3 separate regions of the Homo sapiens genome follow, and all the other regions are linked to region 3. The links are contacts of gene promoters, found by promoter capture Hi-C in blood cells and fetal thymus (Javierre and others, 2016). All regions are on one chromosome and are shown on one strand. The core of a region is centred on a gene start or on the middle of the fragment in contact, and the rest is flanking DNA. Distances in the headings are between cores, read along the strand shown.

Region 1 (4,607 bases), core at 547-3,046, 290 kb before region 3:
AAGCAGGAAGGACAGATGAGTTCAGACCTTCACCTGCCCCCACACGCTTTCCTCAGGGGCCTCTGGGGGGGTCCATGGGCCAGTGTGCTGGGCACCCGGAGGAGAGGCCAAGGCTCCCTAGAAAGGAGAATGAGGCGTGGAGGAGACCAGTAGGGTCGGCCCGACTCAGGACCCTGTCCATGCCTGGGGTGCTGGCCCTGGCACTACAGAGCCAAGGAACAGCCCATGGGGAAGCCCCTGTTGCCACAAGCCGTGTTGTCAAACCATTTCCCCCGGAACAAACAAGGCCTGAGGACGCCCGAGAACCCTGCAGCCCTGACTTGGCGCTCTAGTTCACACTAACCGGCGACCTGCAGAATCACCAGCTCCTTTGTTGGCCTCCACAGAGAAAATCAAGAGGAACGTGCACCCTGGTGAGCAGGCTGACTTCAGAACTAGAGAGAAAACTTTGTGTGCATCTGGGGAGTGCCACACAGCAGCTGTTTGAAGACAGGGTCTTCCTTTAGGGAGGAGACCACAGCATCCTGTATCAGACATTGCAGGGCATGACCCTGGAGTCCAAGAAATGACTCCAGGCTCAGGAGAAGGACAGGGCTGGACCCGAGAGCCACAGCTGCCACCTAGAAGGGCAGGTGTCTCGTCCATCTCATCTCCACACGCATGTGTTCCCAACCCTAACCCTAACCGAGAATAACAAGTGTCCCATCCTTTTCATCTCCACACGCATGTGTTCCTGACGCTAACCCTAACCCACAGGAACAAGTGTCCCGTCCACCTCATCTCCACAGGCTTGTGTCCCTAACCCTAACCCTAACCCCTAACCCCTAATCCCAACCCTAACCCTAACCTTGTCTCCAAAGCGTGTGTGTCCACAACCTATCTAGGGCACTGAGCCGAATCCAACTGAGACACAGACCACAGCTCCCACCACACCCCTGTACCAATCCATGCAGTCCTGGACAACTGGTGTCCGCAACACACACACACACACACACACACACACACACACACAGAGACACATACAATGCACCACACACATCTAGACACAGACACACACTACACATAATATAGACACACACACCTCATATGCCATACACACACATATACACACATCACACTATAGACATATACACATACCACACAGCACACACATAGACACACACACGGACACACACAGGCGTGGACACTCACATGGCTCCCGGCAGTGCTGCAGGAGGTCAGCACAGAGACGTGCTGAGGAGCCTGAGATGCTCGCTCCTCTGGGCCATCGCGTGTAAAGGCTGCCCTCGCTGTGGACTCTCACATGTGTGACATACATGAACAGGCGAAACGGACACGCACGGCCCCCACACACGTGAGCTGGGTCCCCCAGGGCCCGTCGGAGCCCTTCTGCCTGGGACCTGCCTCATCCCCGGCCCCTCACAGGGCAAGACATCGCAGTAACCGCAGGTCTTCAGAGCAGCCTACCCTGGCCATGCCAGGCGGGAACAGCAGATGGACCCTCGGGGCACCCAGGTCCCACGAGAGAGTGACAGCTCAGGGACATCTGTCCTCGGGGCCCACGAGCTTTAAGCCCAAGCCAGGGTCCAGGCCTGGTGGCCTCTGTGTGGCCAAGGCTGGCGGGGGGCACTCCATGGTCCCAGGCAGGGCCCTCCTCAGCCCACTGGAAGCGGGCTTGGCTCTGGGTCCTCTGCCTCCCCCCGCCCCCGCCCCGCCCTCCCAGGCCCCTCGCCCACCTCAGGCTTCGGGACCCCCGTGTGAGCAGCGAGTGGTCAGGAGGACACGGTTCTGCTCCCCGCAGGGACGAACCCCCACTGCTTCCCAGATCTGCCGGGCCAGACCCCTGCCACCCTCCCGCGCTATAAATCATCAGATCACAGCCCCGCCCAAGGCCTCAGGGACCCGCCGTGGTCCCGAGAGAGGCAGCCCTGGACGAGAACAGGGCCCCTTTTCTGCCTGGTCCCCGCCCTCCCCGCGAAGTGACCCCGTCTGGACTCTGCAGCCGCGGGAACAGCGAGGTCAGAGGGCGCCCCGGGAGCTGTCGGCCCATCCCCGCGGCCCCTGCCCCGGCTCGGTGTCACCTGCAGGCCCCGGACAGGGCGGGATCCCCGCAGGGAACTGCCCCAGGTCCCCGGAGCGCGCGGCGGGCGGCAGGGGCGGGGCTCCGCTGGGCTGGGGGGACCCCAGGCAGGGACCGACCCCCGGGCTGACCGGGAGCCCCACCCCCGCCGGCCCGCCAGGCCGCCGCCGCCCACCTGCGCCCCTCGAGGGGACCGGCACCTGCGCGCACCTACCGTAGCGGCCGGGCTCGCGGCAGTAGAGCAGAATGGGAAGCGGGTCCTCGTCAGGCGGCTCGGGCGCGGCTGCGGGGTCCAGGCCGGGGTCGGGGGCCCGGCGGGGGCTCGGGGTGGGGCGCTGGCTGTCGCCTTCCTTGGCCCCGGGCCCCGCACCCCCCGCCGCGGGGGTCACCACGAAGCGCTGGGACATGGTGTCCGCGACGGCTGCGGGGAGCGGGGACCTGAGCGCGGGGAGGGCGGGGCCGGCGGGGCGGGCGCGGGAGGCCGGGAGGAAGGGAGGGAGGCCGGGGGGGAGAGAGGGACCGAGCGCACCGCCGGGGATGGGGCCGCGCGGCGCGGGGAGGGGCCGGGAGGGCGAGGCGGACTCCGGCTGACACCTCGGCAGCGGTCCCTGCCCGCGGGGGGACCACGGCCTCGGCCCCCGAAGAACGAAGAGCGGCCTCGGCTCTCGCTGCGTGACCTTGGAGACGCCCCAGCCGGGCGACCGGGTCAGCGCGCGGTGCAGAAGCCTGAGGGGAGGAACAGACCTCGCTCTGCGCCGCCTGGAACCGACGACGACCAACCCTGGCAGCAACGCTGCAGCCCGCGGTCTCTGGCGACGCCCACCGAGGGCCGGGACCAGGGGGCCGGTGAGGGTGGAGGTCTCGCTGGCCTTTGGGTCCGTGGGGAGGGGCGCCCTGATCTGGGGCCTCCACCTCCCCCATCCCCAGACTCCAGCCCTTGGCCAAGCAGGGTTCAGCCGTGCCTGCGTGCGAGGCAGAGGCCTCCTCCTGGGACTTCCACCTGGGGAGAAAGGCCTCCGGGGCAGCCAGGGTGGAAGGCGGAGGCCAGCCTGGCTGCGGAGGCGCTGGGAGCCGCGGACCCTAGAAGTCTTGGGAGACCCCGCCTGCTCTTCAGGGGTTCCTGCAACCACCGCAGCTGCACAAATTCTGCAACTGGCTCTTTCCTCCCCTCTAATGATGCTGTTGCCACCACCTTGCGTGGAAGTATTGAGCACTTTACAATATGTATTCACAGATTCAATAAATATTTATGAATGCTAACCTGTGCCGGGCCCTGCAGGTGACAGAAGGGAACCCCTGCCTCCGTGAAGTGTAGGTTCTAGAGGGAGGCAAGGGTAAGAGCTCTGAGGTGTGGGGAGGGCCTCAGGTGACATCTAGACAGTGACTTACAGGGAGCAAGTGGTCAGCTGTGCTGCCTCCAGTCATACTCTGCCCTCGTCGTCCACGGTGGCTGCTGCTGGTCCAGCCATCACATCTGAATCCCAGCAGTAGAGTGAGGAAACGGGAAAGGTAGCTAGCCACTCCTTCGCAGAGCACAGCCTAGGAAGCCTAGGAGTGCACATAGCACCTTCGCTTATCCTGTTAGCCAGAACTTAGTCCTGTGGCCACACCTTCGTGTGCAGAAGGCTGAGAAACACGCCTCACCCATGTCTGTGGTGCTATGGATAAGAAATCACCAGAGGCTGGGTCTCAAGGGCACAGCTAACACCAGTGGAAAGACCAGGGAGGATGAGAACTCCTTTCTTCAGCACATCCTCTCACCATCGCCCCACCTCCACTCATGTGGCACCGGCAGGCATGCCTGCTCACACCTGCCCACACTGGCTCACACCTGCTGACATCTGTCCACAGCTGTTCCAGCCCACTCACACCTACTCACCCCTGTGCCACCTGCCCACACCTGTTCCCATCTGCTCACACCTGCCCACACTGGCTCATACCTGCACACATATGTCCACACCTGTTCCAGCCTGCTCACATCTACTCACACCTGTTCCCACCTGCCCACACTGGCTCACACCTGCTCACATCTGTCCACACCTGTTCCAGCCTGCTCACACCTACTCACCCCTGTGCCACCTGCCCACGCTGGCTCACACCTGCACACATCTGTCCACACCTGTTCCAGCCTGCTCACATCTACTCACACCTGTTCCCACCTGCCCACACCTGTTCCCATCTGCTCACACCTGCCCACACTGGCTCACACCTTCACACATCTGTCCACACCTGTTCCAGCCTGCCCACACCTACTCACTCCTGTGCCACCTGCCCACACCTGCTCACACCTGTTCTCATCTGCTCACACCTGCCCACACTGGCTCACACCTGCACACATCTGTCCACACCTGTTCCAGCCTGCTCACATCTACTCACACCTGTTCCCACCTGCCCACACCTGCCCACACTGGCTCACACCTGCTGACATCTGTCCACACCTCTTCCCACCTGCTCAACCTTCTCACACCTGTTCCCACCTCCCCACACCTTTTTCCAAGATGAACTTTTGAATCATTTTTGGACGTTC
Region 2 (4,093 bases), core at 241-2,740, 330 kb before region 3:
AGAAGAGGCTCCTTCTGAGTGCGTTCCGGGGGCGTTGCTACAAAGCTCACACAGAAAGACCACGCCAGGGCCCACACTCCTTGGTGCTTCCTGCCTCCACGGTGGTGACTGGAGAGAAGGGGCTTGGACTCACGGACCCTGCTTAGTTAGCACTTCACCTGGTGTTGAGCCTGGCGCCCCGCCTGACCACTTCCAAGATCTGGGCTGGCCTCTGTGCAGAGGAAGCTGAGACCACTCTTCGCCCGCCACGGGGACCCTGATGACGCACCCCAGGCCACCAGGCCACTGCCTTCACGGTGGGTCCCCACCCGTGTCTCCGGGTTCCTAAACTGCCTGGAGGGGATGTCTGGCCTTTCCTGCCCGGGATGGTGGGTTAGGAAGGATCTGGGGTCTGGCACCGGACTTGTCCCTGGACAGACCTCACCTTCCTTCCACTGCCAGGGAGCAGGGAGGCTGCCACCCACTGCATGAGACCCGGGCACATGCGGGCACTGCCAGCACGCGGGGTGGGGGCTGGACTGAGTCCGGACACCTTCTCAGAGACTCCGGATGGAAGGGCCTAAGAGCCTCCGGTTTCTAGAGGGGGCTGAGATCCGGGGAGTAACTGGGATTTGGAGCCAGGATGGAGGGAACAGGGCTGGGGGATTCTCTCCCCAGCCCCGTCCCCACCCCCTAGAGAAAGTGAAAGTGCTAGAAACCTCCAGATTCCCGGAACGGGGGACGGGAACACGGAGGACGCGGCCTGAGCAAGGCCCCGGTGGCTGCCCCCTCCCCAGCCAGGGCGCAGTCCTTCCTGTTCCGCCTCTGGGGGGTGGGCGGCTCCTCCAGGGTCAGGCGGGGGCAGGACGGGCCGGCCCGGGCTAGTGTTACCGGACGGCCGCGGCGCAGGGGAAGGGAGAGCGCGGGGGACGCAGGACGCCCCGGCTCCCGAACCGCCCGGGTCTCCACCGCCACCCCTGTCCCACTAGGGACCACCCAGGGGCCCGGGCTCCCTCCGGAGGCGCGCTCCAGCCCCTCCCCGTTTCCATGGCTACCAGCAGCGGCGTCCACACCTCTGCCCCCGGTCCCACCCGAGCTGACCGTACCGGGAGCCCTGGCAGGGCCCCTCGCCCCCTAGCGCTGCCACTAACGTGGGGTGGGGGCCCTCGTGGGGGACCGAGAACAGGCGGTGGGGGCGCGGGAAGGGGCGCCTCCTGTACCCCCGGCCCCGCCGCCCGCCTCCGCTCCCGGATGCCGGGCCCAGACCCGCGCTCGGGGCGCTCGGCCTTTGTCCGGCCAGGTGCGGCCGCGCTCACCCGGGCTGGGGCGCTCGGGCTCGGGGCCCTCGGGGGTGCCCGGAGCCTCCGTCCGCTCGGCAGTCTCGTCCCCGCCGCCGTCGGCGTGAGCCTCCACGGGCACCACGGTGAAGTTGGTGGGCATGGCCGCCTGCAGCCGACAGTCCCCGTCCCGGCCCGGCCCGCGCTGCGCCGCTCCCGCCGACGCCACGGGACTTGGAGGCAGGGGCGGGGTCCGACCGAGCCGCCCCGCCCCGCCCGGGCCACGTGACTTCACCTGCTTGCCCCGCGGCCCCACGAAAAGTTGGCCCGCGGCGACTTCCTGCAGGGACCCCAACCCAGGCTGCGTCTGTCTGACCGCCGCGACCCGGGACGCGGGGCTTTCGCTGCCTGCGCTCCCGACCATCGCAGAGCCCGCGAATCCCCGCTCAGTCTCCTGCACCCCCTCCTGCTCCAGCCCCCTGCCCCTCCTGCTGGAACTCCCCGCCCTCCCCGCCCTCCCCGGCCCCCTCCCCGCCTCCCCTCTTGTCCCCTTCCCCGACCCCCCACTCCTGCTCCAGCCCCCTGCCCCTCCTGCACGCCCTTCTGCTGGAACCCCTCACCCCTCCTGCACCCCCCCACCCTTCCTGCACCCCCTCCTGCTGGGCCCCCCTGCCCCTATGAACCCCCTCCTGCTGGAACCCCTGCCCTTTCTGCACCCCCTCCTGCTGGGCCCCTCCTCCTTCTGCGCCCCCTCCCGCACCCCCTCCTGTTTGCCCCCCATTTCCTGCTCCAGCCCCCTACCCCTCCTTCTTCCCCCTCCTGTTCCCCCCTGCCATCCTCCAGCACCCACCTCCCACACAGTCCGCCCACCCACTCCAGGCTGTCAACACCCGCTCAGACCCTGGGCTCCTAGCCTGGCTCCTGGCTAGCCCAACCTGGCTGCAAAGGCAACTCCAGTGGAAGGAGCCTTGGATAGCCTGGGGGTGGGGTACTCCGGAGCTTGGTCCAGCTCCAGTTTAGGGACCTAACCCAGTAGAGGGAGTCCCCCCCCCCACCCATGACAAATACCACCCACGAAGACCCCAGTCTCCTCCACACCTGCCCCAGGAGTGCCCCGCGGCCCCTGCCCTAGAACCCTCCCTTCCCTCCTTGGGAAATGTTCCAGAAGCTCACAGGGTGATGCAGGGAAGGTGGAGTTCCAGAACCCACCAGGCAGACACCAGGATACCACCGGCCAGCACCTGGCACATTTCTCAACAAATGACTCATGAAAAACGGAACAATCAGATGTCCGTCAATGGGGAATTGGGCTAAAATGCTATGGCACACAGGTGCAATGAGTCAGCCTTTATTCCTAATCACCCACAACTGCTGTACGACAACAAAGCAGAAACACAGGTGGTGTGGGCAAACACGGCCACAGCCTCTTGTCACGTGGAAAATGGGTATGGCCTGGCCATGTTTTAGCCGCTTGCCTGTCTAATCCTAAAAGGCAGCTGGAGGGGAGTGATGGCCTCCGGGCTGTGGGATCACCGGGCTCTGTGGGTTCAAGGAACGCAAGCCCAACCTCTCCAGCCATTTCCAGTAAAGCCAGTCATGCCCTGGGGTGGCCTAGGGTTCTACCCCTTTGCCCCATGGACTCTTCTGGGCAGAAGCTGTAGGCCTGGGACCCTCCTGGAACGTCGCCCATCCAGCACCAGCCCTTGCAGAGGTGGGGGTTCCTCTGGCCTGGGTGTCTGGAGCTGTGCCTGCTCCACACTCTCACCCCACCTCCCACCAAAGGGAGCTCAGGGCTGTGGATGGTGCTAGGTCAGCTGCCTCCCTGGGTCAGTGGGTTGGAAGGTAGGAAACCATCACCTCCCCAGAAGATAAAATAGTTCCCAGGCATCCTTATGAGGAGGGCTGGCTTTGCTAAAAAGATCCAGGGGGTGGGAACAGAAGTGCCCAATGGGGTCAATTATAGGGTTCACACTTAGGGTGCTGGGTAAACCCTCTCCTCAGTCACCCCAGCAGGGGCTTCTGTACATTCAACCCTGGTTGCCACCCAGCGCTATTCCCGAGGGTTGGACAGAGCTCAGGGTGGGCACGAGGCCTTCCCAAGTGATGCCAGCAGGAGCAACAGATGTGCAGGGCTCCCGTCGCACATCCAAGCTCTGCTTCACACCCCAGGACCCCAGGGCCGGCTGCCCGCCATGTGCTGGCTGTGGACCTTCAGAGGAGCTGGTTTGGAGGGTCTGTGGCCAGGGCCAGCTCCCGGACTCAGGACTCATCAGCTTCATTTTACAGAGGAGGAAACTGAGGCCCAGGAGTTTAGGGTCCTGTGGCAGCTCCGAGGGTGGTCTTCTCTGTGATTACAAAATCTTGACTAGGACCAGGGGCCATGGCTGAAGCACCTGGGTGGGTGCCCAGCCCTGCCAGGCAGAAGGCAGGTGGCTTCTCTTGTTTAAATCTTAGATCTTACTTGTGGGAGACCTCGGGTGGGGGGTGAGGTCTGCTGCCTTTTGCATTCTAATCAGGTGAGTCACGACAGGGATCAGCACCCTGTAAGCACCTGCGGGTCAAGACAGAGACCCTTGCCGGAGCCCAGAAGCCGCTGCAGGCCCCTCCCATCCCATCAGTAGCCCATCCCTAGGGGTCTGGTGGCCCCTCCCTTCGCTCTGTGGGTTTCCGTGTCCACGTATATCCTCCCACACGGCAGCCTGGGGTTAAATGTGCGTTGTGTGACTTTCAGTGCTCTCTTCCTACCCACCTCCATCCCTCTGTCCTTTTCTGTACCCGGCACCTGTTGTAGGAAGTGGCCCTCGGACACGTGGAGGTACCCGAGGCCTGGGTTGGAG
Region 3 (4,223 bases), core at 67-2,566:
CTAGGGCAGGTGGCACCACCCCGCGTGAGAGAGCTGGGCGGAGGATGGACAGGGCTTCATCGCGGGAACTAGCTCCTGGGCCAGCAGGGTAACCCGGGAAATCCTGTCCAAACGGCTACATAAACCCCCCTGCAACGCTGAGCAGGAGAGCAGGAGCGTCTACACCGCCCCAGCCAGGGCGACTTCTGTCATTTGGATCCAGCAGCAGCGTGTTTCAGTCGAGCGCACGCACACACAGACACACAGACACACACAGACTCACAAACACACATACACACTCACACACACACAGGCGAGCACATACACTTACACACATACACACTCACACTCACACAGGTGCGCACACACACACAACGACTGAAGCAGGTCGCAGGTGGAGGCTCTAACAGGCAACTTTCCCTGCATCCAAGTTTGCACAAAACCTCACCCATGAGCTATCACGAGCTATGCCACGCACCCGGTGACAACCTCAACCGGCACGACCCCTCCGGTGGGTAAAACACCCGACGAAGGGGTTCCGCGGCGCGAGCAGGAGGCCGCGTTGGGAGAGGGCGTCGGGTGCGGAGCTCGCGAGTCTCCGGCAAGCCGCCGCCGCCCTGGGGCCACCTGACCCCGCTCCTGAACGCGGGGCCTCAGAGGCGAGTTTTGGGTCTACACAGCAAAATGTGGCCCGTTAGAAAGCGTCCTTCCTCACCGCGCCCAGAACAAGAAGCGGCGCTGCCTGGCGAGTCCTCGCCCGGCCTCCCCGCCCTGCCCAGAGCACCAGCGCGCAGCCCGCGCCCGCCACCACCCCCAACACAGACAAAGCCCCCGCGAGATGGAGCGGCGGTGTACAAAACCCACTCCGATCGGATCTGGGATGCGCCGCACCCCTAGTAGGGTTAAGTTCCACGAGAAGAAACCAGGACCCCCGAGTCACAGCCATAGACACCCACGCGTCCCCTAAGCCGGTGACTGCACCAGGTGCCCACCCGGTTCTGAGCCTGGAGCGGGGCCAGGGGCAGCCCTGCACCCTCCTCGCGCCTCGGACGGCCTCAGGGTCCCATGTGGCGCTATCGGGGGGCGCTCGGCACCCGCGACTGTTGGCGACTTTGGAGACGGCGCGGTCTGCGGGACGCGGGGACCCCAGACTGTGCCCGGTCCCCGGCCCCCGCCCCTGCGCCCCACTTCGGGGTCTGCGGAAGGAGCGGGGCGCCCCGATGCCGCGAGCGACGCTGGCCTCACCTGGCCGCCCGGGCCTGGGCTTTGCACGCGAGTCCTGGCGCCGAGAGCGTTCCGCGAAGCCTCCCCTCCCGCTCCGCAGCGCTGGGCGGTCTCAGCCTCGGCCTCGGGCTCTTATCCAGTAGACAGGGTCCGCCCCGCCCCGCCCTCCCGCCGACGGGGTCGCCCTCGCGTCCTGGCTCCTCCTCCTCACCTCCCCGGGCCGCGCCCCCGCCCCCGCCTCCCGGACGCAGATGGCTGGGAGCAAGCGGCGGCCACGGCTCCACTGTCCTGCGCGTCCCGGAGCCTCGGACACGGGGTGCGGGGGCCTGGGGGTCCGAGACGTCGCGGATCTAGACGGGCGCCTTCCACGCGGGAACTGTCTGGGCCGCCCTGCGCCCTCGCCCGCACCCCTGGGGGCTGCCCCGGGCACCCGCTATCTTCGGACGCCCAGGGCTGGCGGCTCCCAGCTGGACGGGGAGGGAGCCGAGCGGCTGCGCGCGGGGAACTGCTGGGACCCCGTCGGGCCGACCCTTCCCTCCCTCCCCATCAGGGGCCCCTACGGTGGCCCCGCGCTCTGGGGACCACGTCCCTCCCACCCCGCCGCTCCACGCTCTGACCAGCGGGCTCGGGACCCCGCCGAGGACTCTGCACGCTTCCCGGCGTGCGGGCTGCGGAGACGCGGGTCCTTCCGTGGCCTTGGGGTCTCCGCGACCTCGAGGCGACCGAGGTCCCCTAGGCCTAGTCCCCGCCTTGCCGGCATCTAGTGCGCCTGCATCGGAACCGAGGGGCCCGCCTCGCACTCGCCTAAGAAAACCATTTCCCGGGACGGGCCTGGAAAGCCCTGGCGGTTGGTATCCGGCTCCAGGGCCGAATGGACTCCGAGGCTTTCCTTCCGAGATGCCCGGGCGGGATTTCTTCCATTCAGCGCGCGGAGGAATGGAGCCCCCAGGCCGCCAAGGCCCAGGATGTCCAGGTCCTTAGAAGGCACCGAGGTGAGTGGCCGCGCCCAGCTCTGTGCGTCGCCCCTAGGGTCGCCCGAACCCCGGCGTTCCTCCCCGTGTACCCTCGATGCTCCCGTGAGCACCCTGCCCTGGGCGTCCAGGCGAGCCCTGGGGCTCTCCAGCCATTCCAGCCTGCAGCCCGCGCTCAGCAGTGAGGGAGGCAGGGACCCTTGGTGCCTGACTCCGCAGTACCCGCCCGCAGCGCGGTGCCCCACCCCCTGCGCCCGCCCCGCACTCCCCGCACACCACCACTCCCCTCCCCGCCCCCCGCTCCCCCGCTCCCCGGCTCCGGGGCTGGCACCCAGGCAGAAGGCACTCAGGGCTGTGACTTCACGCTGAGTTGGAATCAAGTGGGAGCCTAGTGACCCCCTGGGGCTGCCATGACAAAAAACTCCACAGCCTGGGGGCTCACACAGAAGCCTTCAGTTCTAACGGTTCCGGTGTCCCGAGGCCAAGGCCTGGCCGACTCTGTGTCTGGTGAGGGCCGCTTCGGGGTTGCAGACAGTTCTCTCCCTGTATCTCCCCACGCTAGGGGCTGGGGAGAGCTCTCCGGGGTCTGTTTTATGAGGGCACTGGTCCCATTCCTCAGGGTGGAGCCCTCCTGGCCTGACCACCTGAAGGCCTCCTGACACCACCTCCCATCAGGGGTGGGACTTCATCGCCAGGGAGGTGAGGGGACTTCAGGAGAGGGGGATGTGCCACCTCGAAGCTGTAGTGTGTCAGTGGCTGCCACAGAAGGGATCTCTCTACCCCTATTATCTCCATGGCACAGGTTTCAATAAAAAGGAGTGAGCCAGGGCTTGGCCCCAGAGCAGCAGGGTTGAGGAAACAGTCTCCCAAGGAAAAGACTTTGCAGGTGACTAAGGGAGGCTGTTAAATAAAACACACAGAGAGAATGGATGTTCAGGTATATTAAAAATACACAGGCCAGGAGTGAGGGCTCACGCTTGTAATCCCAGCACTCTGGGAGGCCGAGGAAGGAGGATCTCTTGAGGCCAGGAGTTTGAGACCAGCCTGGGCCACATGGCAAAACCCTGACTTTGAAAAAAAAAATTAGCCAGGCATGGTGGCCCACACCTGTAGTCCCAGCTACTGGGGAGGCAGAGGTGGGAGAATAGCTTGAAGCTGGGAGGTGGAGGTTGTAGTGAGCTGAGATTGCGCCATGGGCCACAGGATGAGACCCTGTCTCGAAACAAAACAACACACAGGCAAACAGCGTTTGGGAAGGGATTGCAAGCGCTGCAGGAGCGCAGAATTGTGACCCAAAGCTAACAGGGTACAGGCAGGAAGGTGCAGGGACTAGAGGTCACACAGATCCAGGCAGCCACATCCTTACTGACCAGTAGCACACAGAGAATGCACCTGCCACACTCAGGAGGGGCCACTGAGTGATCACACGCATGTAACCTGCACTCTGCCAAGACAAAGAGCATTCCTCCACCCCTGCCTCAACCCCGACTTCCAACCACATGAATTAGGATAAAGGAGCTTTGGGTGCTCTAAGAACAAACTAACTGCGGGAGTTGGGCTCATGGATGACACAGAGAAAGCGCAGCTGCCAGACCCATGGGTCTCCATCCTCCCACAACAGGAATGCTCCGTGAACTGTGCAGGTAGAAGCAGTGTGGTTATGAGCTGATCAGACCTGATCAAACGGCCGACCTTTGCATGCTTGGAACTTTGCCCTAAATGCCAAGTCGGCTTTATTATCATTGTGGTTGCTGCTATGGCTGCTGTGGGCTCAGGGCGTTGGGTGCAGGCAGGTGGAGCCCCCCTGCCTCTGCACTTCCTGCCCATGCTCGGCACCTCTCCCCACTGGCTGGGACCGCAGCTGCAGAGCCCACAAGGAGCCCCTGGCCACTGACTGCTGTCTCCAAAGCAACCTTGCCCCACGGGTCCCCCCCTCCTTGGGTGCTGCCTCCTGGGAGGCCCTCAGTGCTGGATGTTGCGCCGTGTCTCGCCTGATTTGGAAGACAGCGTGGATGCTCCCCCCATGAGTGCTGTATCTGAGAGGGGACA

What was found. Contacts are between HindIII fragments. The CHiCAGO score rates a contact against its expected background, and 5 or more counts as called.
Region 1: a fragment that was not itself captured here is called in contact with the fragment with the promoter of SLC6A3 in region 3 in 5 of 17 cell types (non-activated CD4 T cells, naive CD4 T cells, activated CD4 T cells and 2 more); the score reaches 7.1 in non-activated CD4 T cells.
Region 2: a contact is called between the fragment with the promoter of SLC12A7 here and the fragment with the promoter of SLC6A3 in region 3, in 1 of 17 cell types (monocytes). The highest score is 5.6, in monocytes.

Annotation. Positions count from the first base shown.
Region 1 is chr5:1,153,380-1,157,986 of GRCh38, forward strand. It overlaps a transcript of SLC12A7 not described here. Among named protein-coding and RNA genes, the nearest start is that of TERLR1, 23 kb to the right of the region's middle. The HindIII fragment of the contact is 8,944 bases long and covers 1-4,607 here.
Region 2 is chr5:1,110,573-1,114,665 of GRCh38, forward strand. SLC12A7 (solute carrier family 12 member 7) reads right to left here and starts at 1,491. Exons shown (of 24, transcript NM_006598.3): 1 at 1,296-1,491. The coding sequence starts at 1,419. The HindIII fragment of the contact is 43,087 bases long and covers 1-4,093 here.
Region 3 is chr5:1,444,124-1,448,346 of GRCh38, forward strand. It overlaps SLC6A3 (solute carrier family 6 member 3), which reads right to left and starts at 1,317. Exons shown (of 15, transcript NM_001044.5): 1 at 1,225-1,317. RefSeq lists an enhancer at 1,955-2,454. The HindIII fragment of the contact is 13,596 bases long and covers 1-4,223 here.